Regions from separate parts of the Homo sapiens genome. Here region 1 is linked to region 2. The links are contacts of gene promoters, found by promoter capture Hi-C in human tissues and cell types (Jung and others, 2019). All regions are on one chromosome and are shown on one strand. Each heading gives the region's core, a stretch centred on a gene start or on the middle of the fragment in contact. The rest is flanking DNA. Distances are from core to core; before and after follow the strand shown. Region 1 has its middle 15 kb from the start of PNRC2. Region 2 holds the start of GRHL3 (grainyhead like transcription factor 3).

What was found. Contacts are between HindIII fragments. The study calls those that stand out against the background at their distance.
Region 1: a contact is called between a fragment that was not itself captured here and the fragment with the promoter of GRHL3 in region 2, in 1 of the 25 tissues and cell types used here (mesenchymal stem cells).

Annotation. Positions count from the first base shown.
Region 1 is chr1:23,943,122-23,947,436 of GRCh38, reverse strand. No RefSeq gene overlaps it. Among named protein-coding and RNA genes, the nearest start is that of PNRC2, 15 kb to the left of the region's middle. The HindIII fragment of the contact is 8,780 bases long and covers 1-4,315 here.
Region 2 is chr1:24,317,030-24,321,773 of GRCh38, reverse strand. It overlaps GRHL3 (grainyhead like transcription factor 3), which reads right to left and starts at 2,417. Exons shown (of 16, transcript NM_198173.3): 1 at 2,206-2,417. The coding sequence starts at 2,222. It overlaps GRHL3-AS1 (GRHL3 antisense RNA 1), which reads left to right. Exons shown (of 2, transcript NR_183722.1): 1 at 1-108. The HindIII fragment of the contact is 14,571 bases long and covers 1-3,915 here.

The DNA of each region.
Region 1 (4,315 bases), core at 1,781-4,280, 370 kb after region 2:
ATTTAATCAGTAATAGAAAATCTCCTGACCAAAAAAAAAAAAAAATCTCCTGGCAAAGAAAAGCCCTGGACCTGAGGGCTTCACTTATGAATTCTATCAAATGTTTAAAGAATTAACACCAACCCTTCTCAACCTTTCAAAAAAATGGAAGAAGGAAACACTTCCTAACAAATGCTATGAGGCCAGCATTACTCTGATACTGAAGACACACAAAGATACCACAAGAAAAGAGAACTGTGAACCAGTATCCCTTATGAACATAGATACAATAGCCCTTAACAAAATACAATACTATCAAGCTGAATTCAACAGTATATTAAAAGGATTATTTATACACATGACCAAGTAGGATTTATTCCTGGAATGCAAAGATAGTTTAACATATGAAAATCAATCAAAGTAATATACCACATTAATAGGTTGAAGGGGAAAAAATTCCACATGATTAGCTCAATTGATGCAGAGAAAGCATTTGAAAAAATTCAACATTTTTTCATTATAAAAACACTCAAGAAACTAGGAACAGAAGAAAATACCTCAACATAATAAAAGCCATATATGAAATACAGCCAACATCATACTCCCTGGTGAAAGACTGAAATAAGGCAAGAATGCCTGCTTTCACCACTTCTGTTCAACGTAAAACTGAAAGTCCTAGCCAAAGCAATTAGTCAAGAAAAAGAAAAAAAGGGATTGAAATTGGAAAAGAAGAAGTAAAATTCTCTCCATTTGCAGATGGTATAATCTTATATGTGGAAATGCATAAAGATCACACACAGACACACAACTGTTCAAACTATCTGAAAATTTTGGCAAAGTAGCAGGGTACAAAGTCAACATACAAAGGTCAGTTGTTGCATTTCTAGACACTAACGATTAATAATCTGAAAAAGAAATTAAGAAAACAATTCCATTTATAATAGCATCAAAAAGAATAAAATACTTAGGAGTTAACCAAGGTGAGAGACTTATACCATGAGAAATAAAAAACATTACTGAAAGAAATCAAAGACATAGGTAAGTGGAAAGACATCATAGATTAGAGAAGACTTAATATTGTTAAGATGTCAATACTATTCAAAACATTCTATAGATTCAATGCAATCCCTATCAAAATCCCAACATTTTTTACAGAAATAGAAAAATCCACCCTAAAATTCATAAGGAATTTCAAGAGACCTTGAATAGCCAAATCAACCTTTAAAAAGAAGACCAAAATTGGACATCCCACATTTCCTGATTTCAAAACTCACTACAAAGCTACAGTAATTAAAATAGTATGGTACTGGCATAAAGACAGACATATAGACCAATAGCACAGAATAAAGAGCCCAGAAATAAGCCCTCACATACATGGTATAATAATTTTTGTCAAAGATGCCAAAATCATTCAATGGAGAAAGGACAATCTTTTCAACAAATGGGGCTAGGAAAACTGGATGTAAAATACCAAAGAATGAAGTTAGACCCTTACCTAACATCATATGTGAAAATTAACTCAAAATGGATCAAAGACCTAAATGTAAGAGATAAAACTATAAAACTTAAAAGAAAACATAGGGCAAAAGCTTCATGACATTGGATTTGGCAATAATTTCTTGGATTATAGCACCAAAGGCACAGGTAACAAAAGAAAAAATGGACAAATGGGACTACATGAAAATCAAAAACTTTTGTGCATCAAAGAACACTATCAGCCGGGCAAAGTGGCTCACGCCTGTAATCCCGCACTTTGGGAGAACAAGGCAGACGGATCATGAGGTCAGGAGTCCGAGACCAGCCTTGCCAACATAATGAAACCGCATCTCTACTAAAAATACAAAAATTGGCCGGGCATTGTGGCACAAACCTGTAGTCCCAGATACTTGGGAGGCTGAGGCAGGAGAATCGCTTGAATCCGGGAGGCAGAGGTTGTAGTGAGCCAAGATCACACCACTGCACTCCAGCTTGGGCAACTGAGTGAGACTTTGTCTCAAAAAAAAAAAGGACATTATCAAACAGAGGGAAGAGGAAAATTATGGAATGAGAGAAAACATTTGCAAATCATATATCTGATAAGGGAGTAATATCCAGAATTTATAAATAGCTCCTAAAACTCAACAAAAGAAATAAACTAATTCAAAAATGGGCAAAGAGCTGGGTGTAGTGGCTTATGCCTGTAATCCCAGCACTTTGGGAGGCTGAGATAGAAGGATCACTTAAACCTAGGAGTTCAAGACCAGCCCTGGCAACGCAGTGAGAACCCCATCTCTATAAAAAAATTAAAAGTTAGCTAGATGTGGTATGCATGCCTGTATTCCCAACTACTTGAGAGGCTGACATGGGAGGATCGCTTGAGCCCAGGAGTTCAAGGTTGCGGTGAGCTATTATCATTGCGCTGCACTCCAGCCAGGGTGAAAAAGCAAGACTCTGTCTCTTTAAAAAAAATAAAGAAAAGTGCAAAGGGCTTGAATGGACGTTTATCCAAAGAAGATATACAAATGCCAATAAGCACATGAAAAGATGCTCAATAACACTAATCATGAGGGAAATGTAAATCAAAACCACAATGAGGTACCACCCAACACCCATTAGGATGCTACTATCCAAAACAAAAAACAGAAAATAACAAGTATCGGCAAGGATGTGGAAAAATTGCAATTTCTGTGCAGTATTGGTGGGGATGTAAATTGGTACGATTGCTGTGGAAAATAGTATGGCAGTTCCTCAAAAACTTAAAAACAGAATTACCATATGAGCTAGCGATTCCACTTCTGGGTATGGAATCGGAAAACAGGGTCTCAGATAATTGCATACCCATGTTCAAAGCATTATTCACAATAGCTAAAGCATGGAAGCAACCCAAGTGTCCATCCATGGATGAATGGATAAGCAAAATGTATAATATACTTACAATGGAGTATTATTCAGTCTTAAAAAGTTAGGAAATCTTGACACATGATACAACATAAATGAACCTTAAGGACATTATGCTAAGTGAAATAAGCCAATTACAAATGACAAATACTGTATGATTCCACTTACATGAGGTTTCTTGAGTAGTCAAATTTAAAGAGACAGAAAGTAGAACTTCAGTGGTTGCAGGGGCTGAGAGGAGAGGAAATGAGGAGTTATTATTTAATGGGTACAGAATTTCAGTTTTGCAGGATAAAAAGAGTCCTGGAGATGGATGGTGATGATGGTTGCACAAGAATACGAATGTACTTAATTTCATTAAACTGTACATTTATAAATGGTTAAGTTGGTAAATTTTACGTTATGTGTATTTACAAATGAGGAAGAAGAAGAAGTAGGCCGAGAGTGGTGGCTCACACTTGTAATCCCAGAACATTGGGAGCCTGAGGCAAGAGGATTGCTTGAGTCCAGGAGTTCAAGACCAGCCTGGGCAACATAGTCAAACCCTGTCTTTACAAAAAATAAAAAATTAGCCAGGCGGCCGGGCTCAGTGGCTCACACCTGCAATCCCAGCACTTTGTGAGGCCGAGGGTGGGGGGGTAGATCACCTAAGGTCGGGAGTTCGAGACCAGCCTGACCGACGTGGAGAAACCCAATCTCTACTAAAAATACAAAATTAGCCAGGCATGGTGGCTCATGCCTGTAATCTCAGCTACTCAGGAGGCTGAGGCAGGAGAATCACTTGAACCCAGGAGGTAGAGGTTGCCATGAGCCGAGGTCACACTATTGCACTCCAGCCTGGGCCACAAGAACAAAACTCCGTCTAAAAAAAAAAAAATTTAGCCAAGCATGGTGGTGCACACCTATAGTCCTAGCTACTCAGGAGGCTGAGATGGGAAATTCACTTGAGCCTGGGAGGTTGAGGCTGCCGTGAGCTCTGATGGTGCCACTGCACTTCAGCCTGAGCAACAGAGCAAGACCCTGTCTAAAAAAAAAAAAAGAAGAAGTAAAAAAAGTAAAATAAAGGTATTTCTTTATACCATGGATTTTGTTTCAACATAGTCATTTGTCTAAATATTTAAATAAGAAAGCTAATATTTAAAATAATAAAAGATGTTCTATCTTTCTACCTTGACAAATTTACATTCACAACTAAATTAACCCCAACCTTTTATGTCATTTGGATGCAGTTGCCTTTTGTTTCGAGGTCATGGAGCAAAAGATGTGCAGAAGCATTTCCCTGGGGTGTGAACAGTGTTAGTCCTAAGAATGGCTGTCAAGCGTTACAGGTTGTGTGGTGCCAGCACTGAGTAGCAGACATGCCCATATGTTCTTGTCATGTGCAGTAACCCGTGTAGCCACACAGTCCTTTGACCCCTATGAACCCGTGGCTGGAAGATTTCAGTTTATTTAGACTTGC
Region 2 (4,744 bases), core at 1,168-3,667:
CTCAGAGACCAGCCTTCGAAGTGCCGCCTTACACCCGGGGCCTGGCCACCGGGCGGGCGCGGATGGAGCTCTGGTCCACATTTGGGAGCTCACAGTTGTTCCTGCCAGGTAGGTGTTACAGACAGATGAGCAGACTGAGGGTCAGGGAGGACAAACAAATTCACCAGGATCCTGCTGTTGGTAAGTGGCAGAATTTAGAGTGACAGGCAAGTCCCACTTTTGCCACTATATCAAGGCCTGGCCAGAGTTGGCCATTCCATGAGGGCCCAAGCTGTAAGCTATGGCCAGTCCTCTTAACTTGGCACTTTTTAGGAGAATGTCGAGGCCGCAGAAGCAACAGCAGCTCAGAACTTGCAAGCCAAGCGCCGGGTGCCCTCCCCTTACCAGTAGGGGCAGCTGAGCCCCCAGGCTCTGCCACTGTAATCTCAAATGGTGGCTTGGAGTCCGCCTGCAATTACTCAGCAGGCAACTGGCTTCCCTCACCCCACCCCAAACTGAGAAGCCTCAACTGTCAGCGGATCTGACTTCAAATCCAAACCATTAGGGAGGAGAAAAGCAAGAAACCTTTCTGTTCAAGTAACCCAGCTTCAGAACACATACCCCCTAACGTGCAGTAATGAATAGATTCTGTCTGTAGCCTCCGCAGTTTTAGCCAGCAAATTTAAGTGGGATGGAGACACATGTCAAGATTTTTTTGCGCGTTCAAAGTATGGAAAAATAGCAAGAGGTTTGGGAATGCTCATTGATTGGTTAGTTCTACATGAAATGACAATGGTGTTACTGGTGTGTTCTCCACCAGCCTTAAAAGCAATCACTATTCTAAAATTGTCAAATCCTCTAACAACCCCATGAGGTGGATACTACTGTTGGCCACTATTTACAGATGAGGATTAAGGGACTTGCTCAACATCACACAGCTATAAGTGCTAGAGCTGGGACTTGAACCCAGGTGTCAGTACCAATGCTCCTGCTCTTATTCTCATTGCGGTCCAATTGTCAATACATTGTCAACCCCGGGAAATTCATTCAAAAGAAATGTGCCTGTTAACCCAAGTGATTGTGCTGTGAACATGAAGAGCTGAAGGGCTAGCTAGAACATAGAATCCGGTCTGCAGTCAGGACCTAGCACTGCTGTCTGCCCACAGATCTTCAAGTTCTTAAAAGTCTGTTGAGGAGCAGTTAGAAAAAAGATGGTACAATCCTTGCCTCTGCCCACTCACCTCTGAGGGTGGCAGGAAAAGGAGAGCCTGTGTTTAAAGGATTCTGGCTTCTCCTGCCAGCTCCCTGAACCCAATCTAAAGCAGCCCAGATCCCAGCCTCACCCTACCTTCTCTAAGGTCTGGACCCCAAGAAGGACATCATGGTGAAGATCAGCATCAGTCAGTCAGGATCTTAAATCTCAGATGTGGGCAGGAAGGCACATGCATCCTCCCAGCCAAAAGAGGTGACCTACCAAAAATCACTTCTCATCTTCCCCAGCCTTAGAACTGCCTCTGAATGAGAGGAACCACATTTTACTGAACGCATCTTCAGACCATAGCTTTATGCTAAGCATTTTACAGCATTTATCACACTTAACTCTTTCCAGAATTCTACAAAGCATTCTTGTACCCATTTTCCAGATGAGGAAAATGAAGCCCAGAAAAATTGAATGTCTTGTCTGAGATCACCCAGGGACAGAGCCTGGATTTGAACTTAGGTCAAGCCCACTACAAAGAGTACACATGCTTAACCACCACACTGTAACCTTCCCACTTGGGACTGTTCCAACCCAGCAAACAAGTCCCTTTAGAGAAACCCAACTCTCTGCCTAAGACAGCTCTTAGAACTACCTTAAAGAAGTTCCTTTTGGCAAGAAGATAGAAAGCCTCGATGGGATTGGGGTCGTCTGATTTCCAAGGCCCCTTCAGAGGATCAAAAAGTGGTGCCAGAAACCTTCACAGTTTCAGTCTTGTGTTTCCCTGCCTGGCTCGAAACTGCTCAGCAAAGAGAATGAGAAAAACTATTTTCCCAGGGAAACACTCACCTCTAGCTTGAGACTGGGGCTTGCCTTGACACGCCAAAGTAAGATCGTCAGCCCATTCATTTACCCTTACAAATTGCTCTGTGAATCCCGGTGCCGGCCTCCCCGCTCTTCCCCCTCCAGGAAACCCCATCCAGCCTCCACGCTCTGAGAGCGGCAGGTATCCACCGATGTTTACTCACTCAAGTTCATTCGACATCTTCCTGCTCCCAAGCTCCGACGATCAGCACTGAGGCTCTGCTGACCGCTTGTCTCTAATTCTTGCCTGACACAGACATTCTCTGCCCGGGAAAGTGTTTGATTTATGTTGAGGTTTGGGTGTCGAGATTTTGCTGACAGGTAGGTTCCCAGCAGCGCTGGCGCTGATTGGCTACAGGTACAGGTGCCGGCGACTGGAGGTATACCTCAACAGGTGCAGCTGTTAACTCTTAGCCCGCCGAGGAGGGCGGAGCTATGGGGGACTGGCTGGGTGGAGCTGGCCAATTCCTTCCTTGGTGAGGGGGTGGGGGGTGGAGATGAGGGAGGAGGGATGGAGAAGAAAATGTTGGAAAGAAGCAAGATAACTAGAGGAAAAGTACAGGGACAAACAGATAACTTGGCTTAAAGGAAAACTTGATTCCTGTTTCTAGTCATTGTCCCAGATACCCAGAAACATCCCCACCCCCAAATTTCTTTGCCCCCTCCTTCTGTACCACTGGGGAATTCTCAAAGGAGAGAGCAACTTTTCCCAGGTAGATCTTTGTATAAGTTCCCTTTTTTTCAGTTTCCCCTTTAAGGTAATATTTTTGAATAATCTTTTGCAGTTACTCAAGTGACTTCTTTTGGTTCTTAAAGTAACCTACCGTGGTAGATTTATTATCGCTTCCCCCTTCCTCTTCAACACATATTTTACAGATGAGGGAGGAAATGGAGGCCAGAGAGGCAAAGTGCCTTGCCCAAGGGCACAGCTAGCGAGGTCCCAGCCCAGATCCAATCTGCAGTCATCTCACTCCAAGTCTGGCTGCCCCTTGGGCTGAAGTCAGTGGCCTCAATTCAGTAGACATTCATTGAGCACCCGTTGTGTGCCAGACCCTACTCTGGGTTCTGGAGAAACTGAGGCCAGAAAAAACAGGGGTTACTGTTCTAAAGGAGTTTACAATCTGGGGGGTGTGTGTTGGTGGCAGGGGGTGGGGGAGTAAAGGAGAACAGGCTTTTATTGGGTGTGAAGGGGGTGTGGGCAAGCCACATACCTCTGGTCAGCACAGAAGGGATAGAAAAGTTGAAGGCTCCTCTGAAGCCTCAGCCAGCTGGTCATTTCACAGGCTCCAAGTGCTTCGTTCTGTATTGGGAACTTGGGAGAAATTCAATGCCTGTCAGATGAAGTAATTGTGGAGTAATTGCTGTGAGCTGTCTACTATAAAGAACAAGCTTGGTAAACCCCAGAATATCCACAAACACAAACAGGAGAATGTAAGAGCTTTTTAAAGAGCTTCTTCCAGGATTAGTTTGAAATTAAATCTAAGCCAGAGATCTTGGCATCTTTTTTTCCCTCTCTCTCTTTCTATTCTCCCCTCCCCCACCCTTCCCCTTTTGGCAAATTATCTCTTTGCTGTGTCTTCCTGGAAACCTCAACTTGGCCCACTCCTCTCTCTCTTCTCTGGGAACGGCAAGTGAGGTTTCAGCTACCCCTGCCAATTTATGGAGGTTTTTCAGGGTAAAGTCAGAATTCAAAGGAGCCCTCTTGGGGTGGGGTCAGGGCTCTGGAGAGGGGGTACTGGGTTTGAGAACTCTCAGAGATTGGTTTCTCCCTGGAGGCTGTGTTGGGGGAAGCCCAGGGGACCCTAATAAATAATAGTAAATAATTGCTAATAAAGCCACCTCCTCAGAGCAGCCCTCTTCAGTCACCCTTGTTAATAAAGTAGACATTCAATCACTCTGGATCACACTACTTTTTGTTCTCTGCAGAGCCCTTATGACTTATGATACAATGTAATATGACCTATGATATTTTTCTAATCGTTTATTGTCTTTCTCCCCTTCCTCTGGAATGTAAATTCCATAAGAGCAAAGACTTTGTGTCGCTCACTGTGGAATCTCCAGTGTCTGGCACCTAGTAGGTGCTTCATATACCACAGGCACCGGGCATTGTGCGCCTTTGCATACATTGTGTCGCCTAATCCTTACAGCAACCCTGGGAGATAGACATTTTTGATACCCCCATTTTATAGATGAGGAAACTGAGGTACAGAATACTGAAGTAAACTACTCAAGCTGCAGAGCTAGGCAGTGGTAGAGCTAGAGCTGGGATTTAATCCGAGAGCAGAGCCTGGGTGCCCAACCACTTCACAGAGCTTATTGGTGGCTGAAGGGCTATTTGGTGCCAACTGTAACTGCAAAGCTTATTGCAGTCCAAAGGATGGCACACTCCTCTGTATGTACCTGTCTGCCCACCTCATGGAAGGCTGTGGAGTTTCTGTCAACCGTGTTGCAACCCACAGGTGAAGGGCTGTGGGGTGACTCATGCTGACTGGGCTCAGGGGAGGCTGGGATTCCAGGTGGCGTGTCTGTGCTCGCTGGGGTTTTAAAAATGGGTCCTCTCCCTCTGCCTCTAGGTTTTGCCTCTTTCATCACCCGCACCCATCTTCAGAGATCAGCAGAGACCCAAATCACAGGGCAGAGGGTTTCTACGTCTCCACACACAGGAAGGCTACAGAAGTGTCCCGGATGGGATAGAAGGACCGG